Linked DNA regions of Homo sapiens: region 1 is linked to region 2. Evidence: promoter capture Hi-C in human tissues and cell types (Jung and others, 2019). All regions are on one chromosome and are shown on one strand. Each heading gives the region's core, a stretch centred on a gene start or on the middle of the fragment in contact. The rest is flanking DNA. Distances are from core to core; before and after follow the strand shown.

Evidence for each region. The method cuts DNA at HindIII sites, captures the fragments that hold promoters and counts their contacts. A contact is called where the count stands out against the background at its distance.
Region 1: a fragment that was not itself captured here is called in contact with the fragment with the promoter of FAM221A in region 2 in 1 of the 25 tissues and cell types used here (H1 embryonic stem cells).

Annotation. Positions count from the first base shown.
Region 1 is chr7:24,668,925-24,674,859 of GRCh38, forward strand. The region is part of intron 9 of PALS2 (protein associated with LIN7 2, MAGUK p55 family member); the gene reads left to right. Among named protein-coding and RNA genes, the nearest start is that of GSDME, 86 kb to the right of the region's middle. The HindIII fragment of the contact is 3,281 bases long and covers 1-3,172 here.
Region 2 is chr7:23,677,096-23,683,484 of GRCh38, forward strand. It overlaps FAM221A (family with sequence similarity 221 member A), which reads left to right and starts at 3,104. Exons shown (of 7, transcript NM_199136.5): 1 at 3,104-3,188. The coding sequence starts at 3,124. RefSeq lists a silencer at 3,038-3,327 and an enhancer at 3,658-3,907. The HindIII fragment of the contact is 14,044 bases long and covers 1-6,389 here.

The sequences.
Region 1 (5,935 bases), core at 282-2,781, 990 kb after region 2:
ATTTAAGACTCGTGGCAAGATAGGCATTTAGGATTTTCTTGTACTGATGTCTATCTAAAAAGTTGGATTTTTCAGCCATTTTAGTGTAAAGAAAAGGGGAAAGCTTCTGACCCTTGGACATACCCAGTGTGGCAACAGCTGTGTGAACTTACGTGGCCTGGCTTGTAGCTCTCAGTCATGCAAGGTCATAAACCTGATTTTTGATAGCACATAAGAGTGATTCATCTTTTACTGCAGGCAGCATTCATTAAGGTTACAGAGTCTGATGTATAGAATAAAATAGTACTGATGAGAAGTATAACCATTAAGTGAACCAAGCACTCATTTTATGGTCTTTGCATTCATTTCTCTATTTGCATATTTACATAGAAAGTTAAATAATCATGTCAGAAGTATGCTTGATGAGAATGGAATTAGATCAAGGAATTGGATGATGTTAGTGATTTACTGTAATGACTAATACACATTTGTCTCTGACTGTAGGGACTAATAAACATTTGTCTTTGTTTTTGAAATACGTGGATCTTTACTTGTGAACTTAGATGTTCTCTCCCTTGAAGAAAGCAGGAGATAAGCTAACATTGCTTTCATTCCCATTGCTGTGCTTCTATTTCTGACCAAGCCCCCTTTTAACATGGCATTCCTTTAGGTATATTAATGCCTTTAAGCTATTTTGAGTCAAATCCTAGGCTAACTTTAACCCTATCTCTTTTAATTGAATTTTAGAGTTTCCCTGGTTTTGTCCAGTATATTTTGGGTTTAATTCTCAGTGAGTACTCTTATTGCTAAAATTCTTAAAAGTTAGGGAAATAGCCTTGTCATTGCCCCCCTGTGCTACTTATAATCCCTTCAGTGTAAATCTTCTGATTCTACTGCAGGCATTGTAAATCACTAAATTTAGACAAATCCTACTAAAGTGGTTAACAGAACAAAAACTTCACTGTAATCAACGTATGTTAAAGCTGCACTTGTGAAGTAAAAAGTTTTTCGCTTTTATCAAATTCATATGTGCCCAATATTTTTAGCAAGTAGTTCTTAAAGACATATAATGGGGAAAAAAATAACCCCTTCTCTTCCCCTGCCTCACTTATGAAAAACAGTCACTTTTCATTGTTTTTGCTATTTCTTTTGGTTGTGTTCCATATTTCTTAATAATGTCTTTAGTCTGCTGTTTCCTGCTTTATGCAGTTTAGGCCTTATCTGTTGACTTCCTGACTGTCCTTCCAATATAAAGATAGCTGTATTTTCAGTTAGTTCAATTTCACTTTCTTGAACAGCCCTTTCCCCTTCTGTGACCCAGGAATCTCTGGAGTTCTGTTTTTCTTTATACTACCTGATTTTATATATATATGTGTATACAGTTTTTTGTTGTTTTTTAAACTAAAGACTTGTTTATCCAGTAAGTCAGGTTCTTTTTTTTTTTCCTGGAGACCTCTGTCTCAGAACCCTCTGTCTTTCTGCTTCAATGAGGACTACATGCTGTCTCTCTGGCTGCCCAGCTGTTAACACTGGAGTAGTTCCCTTTGTTGTTATCCTGGGTTGAAGCTGTTGTTCCTGGATCCCATTCTTTCTCTTTCTTGGTTTATCACCTTGTTTTGCTGGGGTACATCCTCTTGTATGTGGAATGTAATGTCTGCATCTTTGTGTTTTAAAATGTATATTTTCTGCCCTTTATTTGACTAATTAGCAGAGAATAGAATTCTGGATTGTAAAATTCAAAAGCTGTTACAACGTCTTCATCATCGCCAAAAGAATCTCTGTACCCATTTCCCACCAACTTCCTCACCCCCTGCTGCCAGGAGCAATCATGAATCTTTCTGTCAAAATAGATTTGCTTATTTTGGACATTTTATATACTGGAGTTATACAATATGTGGTGTTTTGTGACTGGCTTCTTAACATGTCAGATCTCATCTGCATTGTAGCATTTATCAGTACTTATTTTCTTTTCCTTGCTAAGTGATTATTATATGGCTATACCACATTTTATTTATATATTCATCAGTTGATGGACATTTGGACTGTTTTATTTTTAGCTATTGTGAATAATGCTACACTCAGCATTTGTATACAGGTATTTGTGTGGACATATGCCTGTTTCTCTTGGGTATATACCTTGGAATGGAATTTGTAGGTTATATGATGACTGTATGTTTAGCCTTTAGAAGAACTTCCACACTGTTTTCCACAGCAGCTGTGTATATACCCTTCACAATCCCAGCAGCATATGAAGTTTCCAGTTTCTCTACATCCTCACCAACATTTGTCATCTGGCTTTTTGATTGTAGTCATCCTAGTGGGTGTAAAGTTGTATCTCATTTTGGTTCTCATTTGCATTTCCCTAATGTCTGATCATGTCAAACAACTTTTCATGTACATATTTGCCATTTATATATTTTCTTTGGAGGAATGTCTGTTCAAACTGGTTGCCCATTTTTCAGTTAGGTTATTTGTCCTTTTCTTAAGCTGTAAGAGGAGGTCATATTATATTCTGGGTACAGGTTCCTTGTTAGATATGATTTGCACGTATTAATATTTTCTCTCATTCTTTGTTGACTTCTCGTGTTTTTGATGGTGTCCTTTGATATACAAAAGTTTTTCATTTTGATGAAGTCCAAATTTATATGTCTTTTGTTGCTCATGCTTTTCATATCGTATCAAGTATGGTACCATATCAAGGCTTTCCCTAACCCAAGGCCACAAAATTTTACTCCTGTATTTTATTTTAAGAGTTTATACTACTGACTCTTACATGCAGATTATATGATCAATTTTGTGTTCATTTTTGTGTCAAATGTGAGGAGGGGGTTCCAACTTTATTCTTTTGCTTGCACTTATCCAGTTGTCACAACACAATTTGTCAAAAAGAATAGTTCTTTCCTCCAGTGGATTGTCTTGCCACCCTTTTTGAAAATCAATTGATTGTAAATGTCAAGATTTATTTATAAACCCTCAGTTCTGTTCCATTAACCTAGATGTCTGTCCTTATGCCAGTCCCACATTGTCTCGATTACTGTATATTTGTATTAAGTTTCAAAACCAGGAATTGTGAACCCAACTTGTTCTTTCTTTTTCAGCTTGTTTTGGCTCTTCTGGGTTCCTGACATTTCTATATAAATTATAAGATAAGCTTCCAGTTTCTGCAGAAAAGGTAGCTAGAATTTTAAGAGGGATTATATTGAATTCTAGCTACCTTTTCTGCAGCAATTGGAAGCTTATCTTATAATTTATATAGAAATGCCAGTAACTTGGCCTTGAGGACTACTGCCATCTGTTTTGTTTTGTTTTGTTTTGTTTTGTTTTGTTTTGTTTTGTTTTGTTGAGATGGAGTCTTGCTCTGTTGCCCAGGCTGGAGTGCAATGGCATGATCTCGGCTCACTGCAGCCTCCACCTCCTGGATTCAAGCCATTCTCCTGCCTCAGCCTCCCCAGTAGCTGGGATTACAGGCACCCACCATCCTGCCTGGCTAATTTTTTTTGTATTTTTAGTAGAGACTTGCTTTCACCATGTTGGCCAGGCTGGTTTCGAACTCCTGACCTCAGGTGATCTGCCTGCCTTAGCCTCCCAAAGTGCTGGGATTACAGGTGCTATATTAACAGTATTAATTCTTCCAGTCTATGAGCATAGATGTCTCTCTGTTTATTTAGGTTTTCATTTTAATGCTGTTTATGGTTTTCATTGTACAAATATTATGCTGCTTTTGTCACATTTATTCCTGAGTATTTTTTTCTTTTTTATTCTGTAGCAAAAAGTATTTTCTTAATTTCCTTTTTGGATTGTTCCTTGCTAGTGTACAGAAATAAACTGATTTTTGTGTGTTGGCTTTGTCTTTTAGCCTTATTGACCTCATTGATTCTAATGATGATTTTTTTGTGTGGGTTCCTCAGGATTTTCTATATACAAAATCATGTCATCTGCAAATAGAGATCGTTTTACTTGTTTCTTTCCAATCTGGGTGCTGTTTATGTCGTTGTCTTGTCTACTTTCCTCAACTAGAACCTGCAGTGTAATGTGTAATAGTGTAATAGAAGTGGCAAAAGTGAACATCCTTGTCTTGTTCATGATCTTAAGGAGAAAGGAGAAAGCATTCAATCTTTCCATTTTAGCTGTGGGTTTTTCATAGATGCCTTTCATCAGATTGGAGAAGTTCCCTTCTGTTCCTGCTTTGTTGGCTTTTTACCAAGAAAGGGTACTAGATCTTGCCAAATGCTTTTTCTTTGTTAATGGTTCATATGATTTTTGTTTTTTATTGTCTTCTATTGATAGGATGTATTGCATTCATTGATTTTTATATATTGAACCAACCTTGTCTTTTTGTGGTAAATTCCATTTGGTTATGATGTGCCGTCTTTTTTTGTATACTTCTAGATTCAGTTGCTTGTAATTTGTAAGGATTTTTGCATCTATATTTATAAGGGATATTGGTCTATACATCTCATTACTTGTGATGTCATTGTCTAGCTTTGATATGGTAATTCAGGGCACATAGAATGAGTTGTGAAGTATTCTTTCCTCTTTCATTGTTTGGGAAGAGTATGTGAAGGATTAATTATAATTCTTTCAATGTTTGATGAAATTCACCCATGAAGCCATTTGACCCTGGGCTTTTCTTTGTGGGAAGTTTTGATTATTAGTTCAGTCTCTTTCCTTGTTATAGGTCAACTTGGATTTTTTTTAAAATCAGTTTCAGGATTTCTGCAGGGTTCATAGTAATGTTTTTTCTTTCATTTCTGATTTTAGAAATTTCGGTCTTCCCTCTTTTATTCTTAGTCTATGTAAAGATTTGTCAATTTGTTGATCTTTTCGGACAACCAAATTTTGCCTTTGCTGATTTTCTGTATTTTTTCTACTTTCTAATTTTTGCTATAATCTTTATTATTTTCTTTCTACTTGTACTTTGGGTTTATTTTACTCTCTGTTTTTTTAGATAGGAAATTAGATTATTGATTTGAGATCTTTTTTAACATAGGCATTCACAGCTATAAATTTCCCTCTAAGCACTTAGTTGCATCTTAAAGTTCTTGGTATGCTGTGTTTTTGTTTTCATTCATCTCAAAATACTTTTGAGTGGGTTTTTTATATATATATATAAATAGGTTCAATGATACATGTCTCTGTAGATGGCTACAGAGACTTTAAAATTGTAATCCCGAATATGCAACTATGCAACACAGACCAGTTAGCCAGATCTAAAATAATAAACTGGCTTCTTACAACAACTGTGCTGTTCCAACCCTTCTTCCCTCCACAATGACCTTAAACCTTACATGAGTACAGTTAATATGGCAGAACGGGAACCCATCTTTGTGACCAAAAGTAAAAACCGAAGAAGAAATAGCAATTCATCCATTAGTTGGGGAAAGCAAGAAATGTAGTGCCCTTCACTGTGCTGCTTACTCTTACTCATTTTGTCCCTATTCTTCAGCCCATCCATGTTAGCTCTTAATATGTTTGAATTAGCCATATGATTCAGCTCTTCAGTGCTCACCACAGTGCTGATCTTTTTCCCATCAGTAGCTTTTAAGACAATTATCAAGGGCTTAAAGCCCTCCACAGAACCTTTTCTTAGAATGAATGGGTTTAGTTCAACCATCATACATCTTCAGGGTAATGAACATGCTGCTGGACAACTGGCACTCTGGAAGAGCCTGGTCAGCTCTGTCTGTAACTGTGCTCTTCAACAGCACCATCTCCTCTCAAAGTATTTTCTTTCACTTGTGATTGCTTGTTTGATCCATTGGTTATTTGGGAGTATATTGCTTATTTTCCATATATTTTTGAATTTCTAAAATTTTCTGTTATAAAATTAAGGTGATTTAACTTTCTTTATATATTACAAAATGATCCTAAGATAAAATAGAAAAACATTGTTATTTTAGGGAGATGGGCTATGTTATGCATCCTGTTTTCAATTTAACATTGACATCTTGACATC
Region 2 (6,389 bases), core at 1,854-4,353:
CTACTCAGGAGGCTGAGGCAGGAGAATCGCTTGAACTCAGGAGGTGGAGTCTGCAGTGAGCTGAGATCATGCCACTGCACTCCAGCCTGGTGACAGAGCGAGACTCCATCTCAAAAAAAAAAAAAACCCAAAAAACAAAAAACGAAAAAACAAGTTATCTGTTGGAGATACATACTGAATAATTATCTTTCTTGTCTTGTAGCTATCAACTGTCAAACCATTAAGACAATAAGAATCAGGCTGATCAGGATTAAGAATGACTGAGAGAAGATTGCAGAGACTTAGACTTTAAGCTGGGTGCAGTAGCTGGTTGAGATTTTGGGACTGCCTTACTTAGAGGTCTGATGAATGCCTTTAGTGTGCAATGCCTGCATGGGAAGAAGGGCATGCATGGATATTAATCAGTTTAAGGATAAGCTGTCACCAACCATGTTTCTTGGTGAACTAAACACATTTTTAACCCAACACACATTTCTTTTTTTCTTTTTTTTGAGATGGAGTTTCACTCTTATCACCCAGGCTGGAGTGCAATGGCGCCATCTCAGCTCACTGGAACCTCTGCCTCCTGGGTTCAAGCAATTCTCCTGCCTCAGCCACCCCAGTAGCGGGAATTACAGGCATGAGCCACCACACCTGGCTAATTTTTGTATTTTTAGTGGAGATGGTGTTTCACCATGTTGGCCAGGCTGGTCATGTACTCCTGACCTCAGGTGACCCACCTGCCTTGGCCTCCCAAAGTGCTGGGATTACAGACATGAGCCACCGTGCCCTGCCCCAACACACATTTCTAACCCTCTCCTTGACAATTGCCATCATAGAGCCTGGAAAACTAAGTACTGGATTGGCTTTCCCAGTTTTCTCTATACCAAGGTGTGGCCATGTGAGACATAAATGAAAATTTTTTTGCAGAGGCCTCTAGGAAAACTCTTTGATAAAAGAAACAAATGATGTTGGTGGCCCTCCTTTTTCCTTTCTTGAATTTGGGTATGATTTCTGGAGTTGTAACAGCTCTTGCAACCATGAGGAAAATGCTCTAAACCAATGTGAGCAACTACCTACCCCCACTCTTCTTTAAAGCAATAAAAAATAAAATTTATGTTTAATTAAGCCACTGTTAGTTGAATTATTCTGTTATTTTCAGAAGAAAGCATTCTTAACCTATACATCACAGCAAAATGCTGGCAAATCCTATCTCATAAACTTTCATGAGGATTGAATAAATAAAATGCCTAACACTTGCCTAGGCAATTTACATGTTCCTCTGTCCACCCTACTTCCTAGATCAATTTAGCTACACATTGGGAGGAAGTTATAGTTTGATTATACCTTTTTATTAAAGCAGAGGTGAGTACCATATACAGTATTTTAATTTGCAAATCTGTCAGCTTTATGTAAGGTCAGGATAACATTTTCTAGTTTGTTCCATACTCTTATTCGTCACGCTCAATATTTTTGTTGACTTCTTTGGCCAGAAGAGTTTACTGCTCCAGCATCTTCCTGGAAGAGTCCACAATTGGGCTAAATCTATTTTAACCATTTCCCTCTAGATTTTTAAATTGTACTTGCCTACACAGACATTCCCCTGCCACTTTTCTGTAAGCCTGCAGAGCCTGGCATTTTCTTCTATTTTTCTTTGTTAGTTCAGTTGCTGCCTAAAAGCAAGACTAGGCTCTCATAGAGGTAGAATGGGGCTGGGCGTGGTGGCTCACGCCTGTAATCCCAGCACTTTGGGAGGCTGAGGCGGGCAAATCACGAGGTCAGGAGATCAAGACCAGCCTGGCCAACATGGTGAAACCCTGTCTCTACTAAAAATACACACACACACACACACACAAAAGCCAGGCGTGGTGGCTAGTGCCTGTAATCCCAGCTACTCAGGAGGCTGAGGCAGGAGAATTGCTTGAACCTAGGAGGCAGAGATTGCAGTGAGTCGAGATCCCGCCACTGCACTCCAGCCTTGGAGACGGAGCAAGACCCCATCTGGGAGGTGTCGGGTGGAAGAGGTAAAATGGACAGCAGCAAACCACACGTGTGATAGGAGAGAATACTGAGCTGAGATCAGTTTCCTAAAATATGAATCCGATTTCAGGATCACTCATTTATCTGACTGTCAAGAACGCCTCTGAACAGGAGGAAGACTTTGGGGAGAGGGTGGGGTTTGTTGAAAGGGTACCGAGAAGGGAGGTGGGTGGTACCCAAACAATTTGTTTACATAATGTTTTATGGACCTGAAATATGTAGAACAGTACTTTGAAACTAAAGTACTGTACTGAAGTTTAATTATTTTTCTTATTGTTTGCATATTCTCCCTCCCAGATACTTTACAGAGGGCGCTAAAGCTGATCCCCTGGGAGCTTCAGAGTTTAATGACTTCGCCTGAAGATTTCCTATTCTTTTCCACAACGTGCTAAGTCAAATTATGGCCAAATTACCAATCGCATGGTAATTCAGCTTCTAAATATATTTTGCAGAGTGTTTCCAAAAGTTAAAAAACAACAACAAAACTTCACCTAAATTGTTTTTACTTGCTTCACCTTAAATCAGTTATTCGGTTCCTTTGAAGAACATGTAGCTTTAGCAACCCCCAAAGTGAACCCAGATACCCAGGACTACTGATTGTTACATCAGAGTTTTTGAAAACGCCAATACTGGAAACAGGCCGACAGTTAAGGAGAGGCAGGCCTCAAACTAAAGCAGAACCTTCTCAAAACTACTTATATTTCAAGAGATGGATTAAGCGAAAAGAGCTGTACAAAGAAATAAGCCATTTTCTATGCGCCTGTTATATGCAAGGCACTGCACTCCCTTGTCACTTGTTAATTTACAAGAAGACTCGCCGGTCCAGGGAAGGGAGAGGGGAATAGGTGCAAGGTTTGTGGAGGGCGGCAAACTGCACTCCATGTGGCGCGAGGCTGCGCTTGCGGAGATCCGGGTTCTGGTGCCTGGCGCCGGCAGCCAGTAGGGGCGCGCGTCCTGCGCAGTTGCCGCGCGCGGCCTCCTCGGGCTTCAGGCCGGGCCAATCAGGAGGCGGGCGGGAGGGGGCGCGGTACCGGGAGGGAACGGGGCGGGTCGGGCTTCGAGGTCAGCTGGTCCGCAGGGAAGCCTTTGGCTTCCCCACCGGCAATGGAGCGGTTGACGTTGCCTCTCGGCGGCGCGGCGGCGGTGGACGAGTACCTGGAGTACCGGAGGTGAGGCTGTGGCTCCGGGCCTGCCCCCCCGCCGCTCCGAGGGGCCAGGATCCCTGGGCTGGGGGCGCGAGCAGGGGCCCGGCGGGCGTCCGCGGGGGTTCCCGGAATCTGTGCCTGGGCTGTTGGGGGAGGCCTAGATGAATTCCAGTTTAGTCTTTGCCTAATTAAATATTGTAGGGCCACGCGGTTCTATGCAGTGATGAGTCTTCCAATAACATTTAAGAGGCCCCTCTGCTCCCTTCCAAGAAGGATGACTAACTCTAGATTGATACAGAGGTCCAGCTGTTTTTTAAATGGCCATTGAAAACAGGCACATCGAGTACTCGGGGCTATAGAAGTTAGCATACATCAAATTAACCCAGTAATTGAGTCAACCGTGAACTTCTGAACGCGCTCCCCACCCCGAGGTGCTGGTTTTAGGAGAAAGGCACCGACTGGTGTTTGGTATTCTGGAGAAACCCCTTCCGAAACTGGAAACGGAGTCGCTCCTTTGGCCTGAGGACGCGGTTCATTGTCCTGGATCCTGACCGAGGCTGGTGCACCTGCAGCGACGCGCTCTTTTTCCGCTTCCTGGGGTTTTTGATCGTCCGGAATCTGGGCGGATGGGAAGTCCTGGAGAGGACCGCCTGAGGACGCGGAGTTGGGGCGGGAGGATGTGTGTGTACAAGCGGAGGGGAGACGCTCCAGGCTCCGCCAGGGAGGCCGGAGCGAGCGACAGGGGCTCCTCTGCGGCATCGTGGGTGGCCCAGATGACCCAGAGGTGTGCGCGCAGACGGCCCCCCAGCTGACTGTTCTCCCCTGCTCTGACTGCCCTGTTTGTGTAGTTTTGGGTAACCCTTAGAACTGCCTGGATATTCTGAGCCAGAAGAATAAGGGCTAGGAGCTTGATGGGGTCAGTTCCCACGCCCGGTTCAGGGTCAGAACAACCACCATCCCGTCCTCTCCCAGAGCAGAGCCGGCTCCTTTAGCCTCCAGTTCTCCAGAGCTTTTGCCTGGGAGCAAGTTGCTGGAGCTGGTGTTGACTGATAACTTGGATATTTAGATATGTGAATTGTGGGCCTCCAGTTGACTCTTGCCTAGCTCCGAACATGTTAGGGCAGACCTATGTATGTAGTTATTTATTTTATTGAGAAATTATTTAGTTATTTATTTTATTGAGACGGGGTCTGACTCTTTCCCAGGCTGGAGTGCAGTGGCGCGATCTCGGCTCACCGCAATCTCCGCTTCCTGGGTTCAAGTGATTCTCCTGCCTCAGCCTCCCGAGTAGCTGGGACTACAGGCGGCCAGCTAATTTTTGTATTTTCTGTAGAGACGGGATTTCACCACGTTGCCCAGGCTGGTCTTGAACTCCTGGACTCAAGCTATCCACCTGCCTCGGCCTCCTAAAGTGTTGGGATTACAGGCCTGGGCCACCGCGCCCGGCTGGGAAATTATTTTTGCAATCGTAAATAACTTGCAACACTTCCCTCTGAAAGAGATTATCAGGTCCTTTACTGACGTCAGAATTTTAGAAAAGTGGGGAAAACAGGACTTGAGTACCTAGATATGAAAAGGTGGGCTGGGAAGGTGGGGTGGGAAGATGAGTCAAAATATGAGTTTAGAAGGAAACAAACTTTCCTTCCGAAGAGTTTTCCTGGATTTGCTCTTGCCTAGGTACTTCGGTGGGAGTCGGTTGGGAGGGGAAGCATGCAGCCTTGTTACTCACACTGTGGGAGGCCCTGACCAGTGTCCTGGCATCACCTGTTAGCTTGTTAGAAAAGCAGAATCTCAGGCCCACTGCAGACCTATTATTATTATTATTATTTAGAGTCTCGCTCTGTCACCCAGGCTGGAGTGCAGTGGCACTATAATGGCTGACTGCAACCTTGACCTCCTGAGCTGAAGCGACTCTCTCTTCTCAGCCTCCTAACTAGCTAGGACTACAGGCATGCATCTCCGCACCCAGCTAATTTTAAAATTTTTTGTAGAGATGGGATCTCACTAGGATGCCCAGGCTCATCTTGAGATCCTGGCCTCAAGCAATCCTCCCACCTCAGCCTCCCAAAGTGCTGGTATTACAGGTGTGAGCCACCACATCTGGCTTTATCATGTGTGTGTGTGTGTGTGTGTGTGTGTATGTATATATATATTTATTATTATTATTATTATTATTATTATTTTTTTTTTTAGATAGAGTCTTGCTCTGCTGCCCAGGCTGGAGTGCAGTGGCGCTATCTCAGCTCACTGTAACCTCTGCCTCCGTGGAAGTGATTCTCAGTGCCTCAGTTTCCAGAGTAGTTGGGATTATAGGTGCCCACCAAAATACTAATTTTTGTATTATTGGTAGAGACAGGGTTTTGCTATATTGGCCAGGCTGGGCTCGAACTCCTGACCTCAAGTGATCCTCCTGCTTCCGCCTCCCAAAGTCCTGGGATTACAGGCATGAGCCACTGTGCTGTGAGTCTTAATCTGCATTTGAGCAAGATCCCCTGGGGATTCTGTAAGTACAATAAAATTTGAGTTGCACTGGTCTAGAACTTAAATACCAATGACATCTTACTTTTAAAAGATCTTTTAAAGATCCGTATTTATCTTAAGATCTTAATACCTGTTGGTATTCTTGATAGCTACAAGAAAATGAAATGGCCCAAAATTTATCTCAGAATTAAATGCCCTTTGTTTCTTTACTATTATGTATCTAGATTGTTTATGTAAAGAAGGCGGTTTTGATTATTTCATAGCTTATAAATTGGTTTTTCTTTTTTTCTAATGGCAAGTACATAGAGCAATGGTTTTTATTTTCTACCGCAGCTAAAGGCTTCAAAGTATGGAAAAAAGCATGTATTGCACAAAAAAGTATGTAGCATTCCACAAACATCACTTTTTGTGACTTTTCAAGGGGAGTATTTTCAGGGAGAAATGTCTTCAGTTTTGGAAAAACTTCTTTTAGTCGTGCTTTCTTTTCCTCCAGGGAGGCCAACTCTTAATTTCTTTTCATAGAAATAGTGGGGGCTTTATGTTTTCCCATAATATTTTGGGTTCTTACTTCTGAAATTAACCCATGATAAACTTGATTACCTAACACACAGATGTGGTTGGAGCTTGTGCTGAGCCAAGTGTGTATTTAGGTTCCGCATTAGTTTAAACCCCTGGCCAGGGTTTGGAGACAGGTATGGAAATTAGTCATGTTGGCTTCTGCTTTGATGTTTTTTGTACTCTTTT